Regions from separate parts of the Homo sapiens genome. Here region 1 is linked to region 2. The links are contacts of gene promoters, found by promoter capture Hi-C in blood cells and fetal thymus (Javierre and others, 2016). All regions are on one chromosome and are shown on one strand. The core of a region is centred on a gene start or on the middle of the fragment in contact, and the rest is flanking DNA. Distances in the headings are between cores, read along the strand shown.

Evidence for each region. Contacts are between HindIII fragments. The CHiCAGO score rates a contact against its expected background, and 5 or more counts as called.
Region 1: the fragment with the promoter of TNFRSF11A here is called in contact with the fragment with the promoter of VPS4B in region 2 in 2 of 17 cell types (fetal thymus and total CD4 T cells); the score reaches 5.8 in fetal thymus.

The regions. Positions count from the first base shown.
Region 1 is chr18:62,323,835-62,326,634 of GRCh38, reverse strand. It overlaps TNFRSF11A (TNF receptor superfamily member 11a), which reads right to left and starts at 1,325. Exons shown (of 10, transcript NM_003839.4): 1 at 1,208-1,325. The coding sequence starts at 1,282. RefSeq lists silencers at 1,234-1,433, 1,484-1,693. The HindIII fragment of the contact is 5,361 bases long and covers 1-2,403 here.
Region 2 is chr18:63,421,080-63,423,780 of GRCh38, reverse strand. VPS4B (vacuolar protein sorting 4 homolog B) reads left to right here and starts at 1,305. Exons shown (of 11, transcript NM_004869.4): 1 at 1,305-1,548. The coding sequence starts at 1,522. RefSeq lists an enhancer at 1,138-1,437. The HindIII fragment of the contact is 6,978 bases long and covers 1-2,701 here.

The sequences.
Region 1 (2,800 bases), core at 76-2,575, 1.1 Mb after region 2:
AGCAGTGAGAGATAATTTTGCAACTGCGTGGTCAGGCAGGTTTTTCTTAGGTGGCTAGCTGTTCGCTGAAACCCTGGTCCTTTGGTTCAAATAAGGTAGCACCCCGTTCAACCTGTTGAACACTTAATTAAGCAACACCTGAAGTGCTTAAAATGAAAAAATCCTTTAGACTTTTCCGCCTTCGTTTCCCTCAACCATACTGACAGACCCATACAATTGGGAATGAATCTTCCCTAGAATCTTTTGCTTCAGCCTTCAGTGCACCCACATTATTTCTGTCAAGGCTTTTCCCCTCTCTTCTCACCCAAACACGATTCTCCATGCGTCCCTCCCCACGCCTCTCCGGGTTCCGTGCCCGGCTGCGGAGGGACGGCAGCAGCCTAACCTAGTGTTAACAGAGGGGAAATCTGACCCAGCCGAAACCAAGAAAACCACCACTCGCCCTTCCCTGTGAGAGCTTTCAAGTTCGTATCAACGATTTTTAAAGCGTTTGTTGTGCTGGGTGTGCTTCCCTCTGCGGCCCTCCTCCACGAGGCAGAAAGTCCGTGCCTGGCTGCATTCGCTTGCTAACTGTACTGAGAAACCTGTTCCGAGAGGACCGGGAAGCCACTCGGGTCTGCGAGGGTCAAGTCCAGCATCCCCGGGGCGCGCGCGCAGTCTCTCCCCGCCGTGCGGGGCCTCCAGGCGAGCTGGCAGGGGTGTCCCCGAAGGGGCTCAGGGGAGGCAAAGGCAAGCCCGCAGTTCAGGGACGGAGGGAATCATGTCTCTTTCCGGGTGGAAATTTGGGACGGAGGCCACCCGGGAGAAATCGTATCGGGAACGGTTATCTGCCGCAAGTGAGGTGCCCACGGCGCTGTCTCCCGCGGCACCGCCCGGCGCAAGCGCTTAGTAGGTGCTCAAGAAGCATTTGGAGAAAATGACAGCATCAAAGCCTGCGGCTAAGAGGGGCTTTTGGAAGAGCCCGTTTCGGGTGTTGCGGTCCCGCCAACCTGCTCCTTCTGCGCCCCAGTTTCCCTCCGCTTGCCCTTTCCCGCCCTCCGCCGTCCAACTCTGGAAGCGCCTCCCCAGCTTCCCACGGCCTCCGCTCCCCAAAACTCCGGCTCCTCTCGGAAGGCGGAGGAGCCAGGATGCCGCCGGCCCCGGCCCTTCCCGGGGCTCCCGAGGAGGCGTCGGGCCGCGCGGCCCGGCAGGCGCGGGCGCTCCTTACCTGCAGCCGGGCGAGCAGCGCGCAGAGCAGCAGCAGCGCGAACAGCGGGCGGCGCCGCCGGGCGCGCGGGGCCATGGCGCGGGACAGGCTGGCGGGCGCCGCGGCCTCAGCGGCCTCTGTGGCCCAGCGGGCGCGGCTGCCGCGGCCCTGTGTGGTCCCGCCCCCGTGCCCCGCCCCGCACCTGCCCCCGCGCCGCCCTCCTGCGCCCCCCTCCGGCCGGGCCCGGCGGTGCCAGCCAGGTGGTGCCCAAGCTCCCCTGGTTTGCGGTGGGACGCGGGGCCCCGCTCGGGGAGGGGCCCCGGGGGTGTTCGCCGCGCCCGGTGCCTCCTTGGTCCGGTCTCCGCCCCTGGCCCAGGTGCTCGGGCTGCAGACAGGTTGGCGGGAGACCAGCCCTGGGTTGCCCTTCACGGCACTGGCTCCTGCCTTGCCGCACCCCAGGCCTGTGGGCCCCGCCTCCCGGGAAGGAATGGGGGCATCGGGGTGGTCCTGCTCCTGCCCCGCGCGCCCACCCTTCGAGGCCCGGCCTTCCGAAAGTGGATGCGCCACCGTCGAGAATGAACGGGAGGAGGATCCTTCCTGGAGATTTCGTCGACTGCAGTTAAGGCATCAACACAATACACCATCCGCCAATCTTCGTAAAATACTCCTCTTGTTCTTTGCTTCAAAATGTTGGGGCCAGCAGCCACTATCTCTTTTTCTTCTCCTGATCCTCTGCCTCCGCCCCTCACCCGTCCTGCACCCACCAAATTCTAGAAAGGCACCAGGCTCCGCCAGCCTTGAGGCGTCCCCCAGCCCCCATCACCACATTGGCCCTTTCAGACATAAAGTGGCCAGATGTCTGGGGCACAGTGTTACCTAAAAACTGAGGTCCGTTCTTCTGGTGCAGTAAGGCCAAGCCATCCGCACTAAGGTTTGCACTGGGAGAAAAGAGGGCGCTTATCTGCAGAGCTCCAGGCAAGGAGAATGGGGCAGCTCTTGCTTAAATCCTGACCTTCAGTTGGCTTGCAAGTAAGGATTTTTAAACGCAGGGTTAATTTCAAGAAAGCAGAAGTTACAGGCAAAATCATAATACACGGAGGTTGCACATTGGTTTGGTCTAACAAGCTGGGATATCTTGAAAATCTTTAAAGTGAGGGTGCTTATAGGTTATACATTCAAAGATTTTCTGACTTGCCATCAGTGAAGGAAGAGAAGCTTTGTTAAAAATTTGGGGTCAGCAAAAATGAATGTTAGCTCTGGCTCGTGGGTGTGACTTCCTCCTTGCCCTTCAGGAAGAAATTTAGAAGAAAGAATGGTGGTCAGTTCCGTCCTCATTTCCCCCTTGTCTGAGGTCTGCATGCCAGTGGATCTGTTTTGTTGGGGGTCTGGGTTTCTGAGAAACAATTCAGGGACATATGTTAAGATGTTATCTTTCGTTTCTATAGGGAATCTAACTTCCTTGGTTATTGTTTTAAGCTATAATTACCTTCTTGCTTATCAAGTTACTTATTTACTTCTTAGGGCTAGCTAGGTACCTGGAATTTCCCTTGAAGGAACTCAAGATTTTCCTTTATTTCCATGCTTAGGGGTGCTCCACAGGCTCCTAAGATGGGT
Region 2 (2,701 bases), core at 56-2,555:
GAGAAAGAAGTTTAGGGTAGAAGGTAATTAATTAGAGTATGTTGAATTTGTCTTGCAGAAAAACCCTGTGAAGGAAACCTCTGGGAGGCTGTTGTAAATGCTGGGCTGGGGATGGGGTGGGTCTAGAGATCCAGATTTGAAGCAATTTCTAGTCTATTGATAGCTGAAGCTCAAGAAGAGAGTTAGATGAGCAGAGGTGAAGAGAGAAGAGGACATCAGACTCTTGAGTAAATTCAGCTTAAGCTCAGGGAGGAGTAAGAAAGGGAGACAGTGAAGGAAGCAGATAAGGAATATTGGGAAGCTGGACAAACAAGAACTGGGTAGTTGACAATACCAATGAAGAGGGAAGAGGAGAGGACTTTAATTCTTTCGGAGATGCCAGATGAGAAAAAATTAAGAAATGAGTGAGAAAAAAATGATGGAGTGATTAAACATCTATGTTGCTTTCCTTTGAGAATGTTAACTATGAAAAGAAGAAAAGGGTGGTGGTGGCTGCAAACCATAGGAAGGCTGAGAAAGGGTTTTACTTTGGTTCTGCCTCTAATCCCTGACGCATTCAACCTCCTCAAGCCATTTGCTTGTAAACATAACTGGCATAAATAATATCTGATATGCCCATTTTACAGGACAAGTGCTTCCCTCTCAGACCACATACTCGAGGACAGCGGCCGTCCACGCCTTATTTACATTCATCTTCCCAACACAACAGTCATTTGGAAGATGCCGAGTGGCGTGGGAAGAACAAGCGGGAACGAGCGCCGACCCGCCCGCGGCCTGACTGCTAGCGCACCGCTGTGCGGCCGCCTCACCGCGCACTCCCTCCTGAATTATTCACCACCGAGACGAGGACGGTGATCGCCCCCATTCCACAGAGGACACGGAGTGAAGGCGCAGTCACAGGCCCAAAGCCCCCAGTCGGCGGGTCTTGGAAATGGACGACTTTTTCACTCAAAAGCTACGAGGCAACAAAGCATGTGGATGAGGAGGGAAGGGAGCCGGGGCCAATAATTCATCTCAAAGTAAAAGACGTCCCCGGGGGTGGGGAACAAACAAACAACAAAACCCGGCTCTGTGCTTCCGCGCTTGCGCTCTCCTAGGTCTGCCAGGCTGCCGCCCGCGCCTAGGCCAGAGTCTCAGTGCGCCTGCGCCGAGCCCGACTTCCGCCAGGGCTCGATTGGCTTCCAGGCTACTTCTCCCGGCCCAGGGAGGGCCTGCGCTGTGGCTAGAGAAGGGAGTCTGGTGACTGGGTGCGCGTGCTGATGACGAAATCGGAAGTGCCCGGAGCAGAGGCGGGACCAGAACCTAGAGGGCCTCGGGATTGCGGAAGTTTGGTGGGGAGGGTCGGAGCTCTGGTGGAGAGAGTGTTGTCTAAAACAAGTTCCGGAAGGGAGGCTGCCCTTCGCGGTCCGAGAACCACCGGCCTCCCCAGTTTGAGGGCTGTTACCCCGTGCGCGCTTCGACGTTGCTGCTGTTGGCTCTCCTCGCCCCTCGTTCCCTTGGGAACCGCCTGGGAACTCCGCCATGTCATCCACTTCGCCCAACCTCCAGGTATCATTGCTCATCTCCCGTCCCCCTAGGGAGCTGGGATCGAGGGGAGGCGCGAGAAGCGGGTGGGGGGCGGGGAGAAGGGAGGAAGCGGCCGCGCCTGTGGTCGAGGCGCAGGAGGGCGGGTCCGGGGACCTGCAGCAGGTGGGAGAGGGGCCCGTTTTCCAACGGAAAGGTCGTTTCTGGCCCGCTCTTGGGGTCTCCCGAGCTACTGGCTTTGTGAGACTCTTCACTTTTGTTGACACTTCCCGCTTCCAAACCAGCCAAGATCTGGGCAGGTTTCTCCAATCAGGGTTAACGGAGAAAGAAAGAACGTAATTTTTGCAAAGCCCTATTCTGGACCAGTTGAAGATAGGGTGGTCATAGTTCGGTCTTAGTTTCTCAAGCTGACAGCAGACCCCTTCATTCTGAGCTGTCAGGTGAGTAGAGATATGGGAACAGACCAAGAATCTGAGATTACAGCCAGCCTGCATGCAATCTCCGTGAAGTCATTGAATTTATGTGCACACTCCTGTGGCTCCCAGATGGTAGTGTGTAAGATCGAGGAGTATTCTTAAACCTCTGTGTGGCTCCACTTCCCCTCCTCTACCGCAATGAGCACAGTGTTTTGTACACAAATCATGGAATCTTAAGATTTTAGGCTTAATCGTTAGTCCTCTGTGGAATGGAATTCGTTCAGAAAAGAAATTTCTTAATGTAATGGTGTCTCCCATCCCCAGAATGGATCTAGGGCTTCAGTGGCGTTTAGAATGTAATGTGGCTTAATGTAGAGGACTCCCAGTCCAGTAAGTCAATAAGGCACAAAAGAGTAGCCTAAAATACTTGTATTGAGTCCCCGTCGTGGACTTCCGGTAGTTTGTTGAACAAGCAGTTATTGGAGTGCCTGACAGAGGCATCAAAGGTAATGGAAGAACTCCTTAACCCATGATAATTGATTCTGAAGAAAGACCACTCAAAGTAGACCCACTTAAACAGAGATTAAAATTTCACACACACATACACAAAAAGAGTGGGAAAGGAGGCTTGCTTGGGACTTTCATCTTGAAAATCGACCTAGAAGATTATTAAAATAATTGTTATCTTTCACAAAATATTATAATTGTATAATTGCAACAATGACTCATTTTGTGGAATAAGTCAAGTGTTGATTTGTCTG